2 separate regions of the Homo sapiens genome follow, and region 2 is linked to region 1. The links are contacts of gene promoters, found by promoter capture Hi-C in human tissues and cell types (Jung and others, 2019). All regions are on one chromosome and are shown on one strand. Each heading gives the region's core, a stretch centred on a gene start or on the middle of the fragment in contact. The rest is flanking DNA. Distances are from core to core; before and after follow the strand shown.

Region 1 (3,457 bases), core at 188-2,687:
TCTGACTTTTCTTTATGACTTTCATGATACCCGACCAGCTGGCCCCAGGGGGCACAATGGCTTTACTCCACTTCTCCACACCCACCCTCATCCTGGCAAGTGCACCATGGCCCTAGCACAGTGCTGATGGAATCTGGAAATATCGCCAGGGGATCATTTGCAAGACTAACCTAATAAATTACATTATTTTTTTCCTGGGATGAGGAAACAAGGACAGAGTTGAAACACCTTCCCCCAGAAATGTGCTTGCCTCTCTCAGACCACAGGTAAGGGCTTAATATGATGTGAGAAAGAGGATTTCTGGCTTGGAATGCAATTCATTTCTATTAACATTTAGAAAGCATCTTGGGTGGGCAGGAATGAAAACCAGACACTGTACATGCTATGACATAGTTTTCAATCACTAAGGAGATGAAGAGGCAAGCTATCAGTGTAACAGAAAGCAGAATGAAAGAAAGAGGGGCTCAGTAAAGCCTTATTCTTTTGTAGAAGGCATGAGATCCTATGAGGTAGGCATAGGCAAGTATTACCCTCATTTTCCAGATGACAAAACTTGCTTACCTGCCTCAGAGTTTAAGTGGCTTGTTTATTGTCACAGAGCTAATAATTAGCAGATTAGGGTCTCCTAGCTGGGTGATCTTTTGAATGCATGACTTTGCCAGCAGCCAGCAGAGCTATGAAACACCGAGAGAAACAATTAAGCATGCTTGGGAACAGTGTGAATGGGCATGGAGCTGGGAGGCCTCCTGGGAAAGGTGGCATTTGACCTGGGAATTGATGAATCCCAGAAAAGCCAATCAGAGAGGTGTGAAAACAAAATTAAAATGGAGACTGGGCCTGAAAAATTCCCAGGCAAACAAAGCCAAAGACCTTAAAAATAGCCATATTCTTGCTAAAACTACAAACATAAATTAAACTTAACTTGGGTCAATTTCTGATAAATGCTTACAACAAATAAAACTTAACCCCAGCCAATGATAAGCAGCCAACTAACATATGATTATGTGACTAGGGACTTTCCAAAAAGTTACCTAAAAAATGCAATTATGTAACTGCAAACTAAGCAAATAATGTTTCATTTTGCTTCTATAACTTCCCAATAAATGCTTGCCTCTGACATTTTGTCATCGCAACACTAAACCTTTGTCGGTCTGGTGCTCCCCAATTCATGAATTGCTTCTTACTTAAATAAACTCTTTAAAATTTTACTGTGCCTCATATTTTTTTTAATACAGAAGAAATGAGAGAAGGAAGAATATTTTAGAAATAAAGGAACTTCATGGGCAGAGTCACAGTGCAAGACAAAAGGAGCAGACCAAGGGCAAGATTGCTTGGGGAGTGAAGACTCCCTCCCTCTTCTCCCCTGAGAAGCTGAGATAAAGGGGGAGGAGAAGCCTGGGTGCCCCCCACTGATAAGCAGGCTCCACCCAGAGGCCAGTCCTGTGTGTCTGGGGACAAGGCGAAAGAGCAGCAGAAGTGCCCCTTCTCCAGGATCAAGGAACTGGGGCGGGGGGTGTTTCCTGGACCCCAGTCCTCCGAATCAGCTCCTAGAGTGGAACCAGGAAGGATTCTGGAGCCACAGAAGATAGACAGATGGTAAGTCCCCTTTTGGAGTCAGAGGCTTAGCGGGGAGGGGTGAGGGTGGCTGTGTGCAAAAGTCCTGCCCCCACTGGAGGGGAGGGAATGTAAGGCTTACAGAGTAGAAAGGTGGGGAGAGAGGGAGGTAATGGGAGAGGGATCGAGAAATGGCACATTCAGGGGACAGGTTCGTTCTGAAGCCCATCTGGGAACACTGCTCCGAGATAAAAATATGTGTGTGGGGGCAGGGCAGGCAGCGAGGGTATCAAAATGGCCTGATAAAACTCTCTTCAATGCACCATTTCCTGAACCAGCTTCTCTCTCCTCCTTCTCCCTCCACTCACTTCAGGAAGGTGGGGACCAAAGTGAGGAAGAGCCGAGGGAACGCAGCCAGGCAGGTGGAATGGGAACTCTCTGGAGCCAAGAGGTAAGTGGCCTCCTCTCCTGGGTCTGGAATACACTGATGTTGTCACTCTCGGCTCTAAAATCCCACAAACACTCATCTACTAACTGTCTGCTTCATCCTCACCCAAAACAGTTGACATTCCTTGTTTTCTCATCTCCCAGGAGTTAAAGTAGGGCTGGGTTTAGGAAGAATTGGGATAATTATTTCTGTATAAAGGGACTGTAGCACCAACAGATTCATTCTCTCTCCTCTTCTTCCCATCCCTGTCTCTCAACCCCCATCTTGTATCTTTCACCTCTTGGTTCCTCCCACAGAGCACTCCAGAAGAGAGGCTGCCCGTGGAAGGGAGCAGGCCATGGGCAGTGGCCAGGCGGGTGCTGACAGCTATCCTGATTTTGGGCCTGCTCCTTTGTTTTTCTGTGCTTTTGTTCTACAACTTCCAGAACTGTGGCCCTCGTAAGCAAGATCCCAGACCCCCTAACCTAGTCAGCCCTCCCCCAGCCCTGGGGCCCAGGCCCAGTCCCTGCTCCTGGGGCTTCTGCCCACCCTGACCCTTGGGGTCCCCATGGTTCTTCTTCCTCCCTGCATCCTAACCATTTCTTTTTCATCAGCTCCCCACTTAGTTACTCACCTGATGTTCTTTGCCTAGCCCCTTGGGGGAGCCCTTGTCTTTTTGCCTCTTCTTTCCCAGCTCTGAGCTTTTCCCCACAGGCCCCTGTGAGACATCTGTGTGTTTGGATCTCCGGGATCATTACCTGGCCTCTGGGAACACAAGTGTGGCCCCCTGCACCGACTTCTTCAGCTTTGCCTGTGGAAGGGCCAAAGAGACCAATAATTCTTTTCAGGAGCTTGCCACAAAGAACAAAAACCGACTTCGGAGAATACTGGGTGAGGAAAGCAGGGTGGAAGATGCTCTGTGCAAGTGGGTGACTCTGTGCCTAAAATGACCATGACTGCTCCAAACCCTGTGTAGTTGTGGAACAACTGATTTGCACCATCCCAGGTGGGATTATACGGGTGGATGATTGGAGATGATGGGGGAGTAAAAGAGGCAGGATGGCGGGAGCTGCCTGGGTTTGCTCATCTCTCACTGTTTCCTGTTGCCTTGCCTTGGGTACCCTTCTTCCGTTTCTCTTGGTCCCTTTCTGCATTTTTTTCTTTATCTAATTTCCATCTTCTTTGCTTCTCCATGTATCCATAATTACTCCATTCTCTCCAACTTGTCCCTTTTAGCAAGCTCCATCTTTGTTGCTTCCTCCAAATGTTCAGTTTCTATCCTATGCATGGTGTTTTCCTCCACAAGCATCTCTTCAGCATCTCCTGCATTTCAATTCTTTTGTCCATCACTCTCATTCTCTAACCTCCAAAACCTCAGTCTCCCAATGACTCCTTGTCAACATTACCCTCTCCCTCTCACCATGCCGGAGCTCCCCTCTCTCACAATGATCTCTTGCTTCTTGCTTCTCCATTGAA
Region 2 (3,202 bases), core at 99-2,598, 150 kb after region 1:
CTTGTTGCATTGGGGTACACATGATTAATTCAGGGGTTTCTCAGACAATTCATGCTTGTCTCCCTTTCCTTTTCTCCCCGGGTAGTGTCTAAATTCCAGGGTGCTTATAAAAGCGCTTGTCAAAGCATTGTGGGGAAGGTACTTGGTCTTTGGTCATCATTTAACTTTCCTTCATGACTCTCATTTGCACCATCATCAGCACCTGTCCCCACTGATATCTGCTGATCCTCGGTGTGTCTGTCTGTCTGTCCTTCAGGTTGTTTTGATCCACGGCGGGTACACTGTGCCTTACACATTTCAAACACGATGTCTCTTCAGGCTTGATGGCTTCTCTCAGTTAATCTGTTTCCCTGTGAATGAGAAAATGGCTATTCCTGATCTATCCTGAGATCTTTGGGGATTCTTGGAGACTACCTCAGGTCCCTCTGTTAAGACACATTCTAGAGCCATGTATGTTTTCCACTGCTGCTCTAATAAATTACTACAGACTTAGTGGCTTAAAACAACACAAACTTATTATCTTACAGTTCTGTAACTCTGAAGTCTGACACAGGTTTCACCGAGTTAAAATCAAGCTGTCAGCTAGGCTGCATTCTTCCCTGAGGGCTCTAGAAGAGAACCCATTTCCTTACCTTTCCTAGCTTCTAGAGGCCACCTTCATTCCTTAGCTCATGCCCCCTTCTACCTCCAGGGCCAGCAGCATGGCATCTCTCTTGCCTGCTTCCATGTCCACATCTCTTTCTTTGACTCTCTTCTGCTTCCTTCTTCCATGTTGAAGATGCTTGTGATTGTATGGGGCACACCTGATTAATTCTGACTACTCTCCCTGTTCTAAGGGCATCCAATTAGAAACCTTAATTCCATCTTCAACCTTAATTCCCCTTTGCCATGTAATCTAACACATGCACAGATTCTGGGGATTAGAATGTGGACATCCTTGGGAGCCATTATTCTGCTGACCACAAGTCATTTCTACTTACCAGTCTCTAGCCAGTATGACATGTAGGGACCCAGGACCTTGTTCGTCTCATTCTGGAAATAAGCACAATTTTCCTCTGCCGTCAAAACTTTTGAATTTCCATTTCTTCTCTCTCCACCTCTCTCTCATCCCTTTCCTTGATCAGGATGTGGATAAGAAGAGGTAAGTCACAATTCAGGGCATTCAGGAGCATCTAATTGGCTGACTCTCCCTTCTTTCCATTAGCCCAGGTAATTTTTAACTCTTCTGTAGAGGAACAAATAGGCTTTGCAAGTATCTTCCATTCCTATTATATAGGAATATATACCAGTTTTAAAATTAAAAAGACGAGTTAGTTCTTATTGCCATTCTCTTCATGTATAAAGCTTTCTCTTGTTGGCAGCAATTCATTAAGAATCTAGTATGGAGGGAAAAAGCTGAAGATGGTAACAAAAAGACTTGAAAAGAGGCTTGCCAGAGAGGTGGACACGTTAAGATGACCAGGACATGTTAAGATGACAGTTCCAGCCAGCTTTCAATTCCGTAGGGCACCTCCAGACCCAGGCCAGATGTGCGGCCAGGACTCTCCCATTAGTAGATCTACTGCCACAGAGCAGAGGGATCATATCCCCATCCTCTTTTCAATACATGAATGACTTAAATGATTGAATAACTAAACAGTATTGCAGATGGGGATGGAGATTGAGGAGATTTTTTTAAAGGCATCAGCCATATGGAAGGAGCTTCCAGCTACTGAGCTGTGACAATGATCAGGAGCCAGGAGCCAGCTGGTTACTCTGATCTGACTGATACATCTCTTCACCCTCCAATCTGCTGCAGCATCTCTAAGAAGGAGGATTACATTGCTGTCTACATGTGGTAATGACACTGAGCTGATGCAGCTGATGAGTGAAGTCAGGTCTCATAGGATACGCTGGTGTTAAAGACTGCCAGCCAGAGGAAAACGTGATGCGGTACCCTTGAGAACAAGAGCAATTCTCATTCTTTCTCCCTGTATCTCCCACCACCCACTGTCCACTTTCTCTCCACCCCATCCCCACTCAGGACTAAATAAAAATTTCAAAAGCAAAGAGGAAAGAGAACAGAAATGGAAAGAAAGGGAGGAATAGGCTATGTGTGCACATATTTATTTTGGCTTCACTCTCTGCAATCCTAACATGCACAGATATTATATTATCAGATTTATTAAAAACTGAGATTGAACAACTGTTCAATGAAAACTGCTCTTGCGTTGGCTATAGCTATTTTTCATCATATGTTCCAAATGTTCACTGCAAGCAAACTATATTTACCACTTGATTTATCATTTAAATAAATGTTATAAGAGGATTAATTCCATTTTGAAATGATAAAAAACAAAACATTCCCCTATACATATGGTGTATTCAAATGCAAACAAAAAAATGTGCTACAGCCAAAACTGTCAGAAGCAAGAACCCCAACATTAACTTGGAATTGTGTTACTGTAGCATCAGCAACAACAACAAACATATGACATCACTAGGCCCTGATGAAATGGGAAAGTGTTACAAATGCTTTATTTGCTTAAAGCTTATTCTCCCTGTTCAGCCACTTTTACGGCTTTCTTTCCTGGGTTTTCATCTCAAACCGCTCCACCACATCCAACCCAAACTAAGTAATTGTTCTGAATATGAATCCTTCAGAATACAGAGCATGGCAAAGACAGAGGGAAGAGGAGTTTCCAAGGGTGTGCTGGTGTCCTCCAGGCATCTGAAGGTCTTTTGTCCCATTTCAGCAGAATGACATTTTAGCAGCTACCTAGCAGAGTCCCATGCTTAGCTATTATGAATCCTTACTATTATGAATTCGTGGCTTGACTGTGTTTTTTGTGGCTCGTGATCCCTTCAGCCCCTACCTTCCACCCCATGCCATTGTAAATCTCCCAATCTTTGCTGCAGACATAGGGAGTCAAAAAAAAAAAAAAAAAAAAAAAAAAAAAAAAGCCAACATATGTAAGAGTGCCTGCCTGCAGTGCACCAGGCAAAATGCATCTTTCAACAATTTTTAGATATTGTCATCATTATTTTCACTTTATAGATAAGAAAATTGAGAATCAGGGTTTGCTTGAGAGTTCCCAAGCCAGCAAGAAGCAGAGCTGTGAAATGAACCCAAATCCATATGATTCCAAGTCTCTGTGATGTTTCCTATTACTCATATTGCATTTAGAGGATAAATTAGATCTAGTTGGCCCATTAGAGACAC

Evidence for each region. Contacts are between HindIII fragments. The study calls those that stand out against the background at their distance.
Region 2: a contact is called between a fragment that was not itself captured here and the fragment with the promoter of KEL in region 1, in 2 of the 25 tissues and cell types used here (spleen and thymus).

The regions. Positions count from the first base shown.
Region 1 is chr7:142,960,343-142,963,799 of GRCh38, reverse strand. KEL (Kell metallo-endopeptidase (Kell blood group)) reads left to right here and starts at 1,437. Exons shown (of 19, transcript NM_000420.3): 1 at 1,437-1,596; 2 at 1,928-2,005; 3 at 2,299-2,440; 4 at 2,696-2,872. The coding sequence starts at 1,594. RefSeq lists a silencer at 1,478-1,673. The HindIII fragment of the contact is 18,554 bases long and covers 1-3,457 here.
Region 2 is chr7:142,813,904-142,817,105 of GRCh38, reverse strand. LOC105375541 (a long non-coding RNA gene) reads right to left here and starts at 2,909. Exons shown (of 2, transcript XR_001745392.2): 1 at 981-2,909; 2 at 1-350. The HindIII fragment of the contact is 4,106 bases long and covers 1-3,202 here.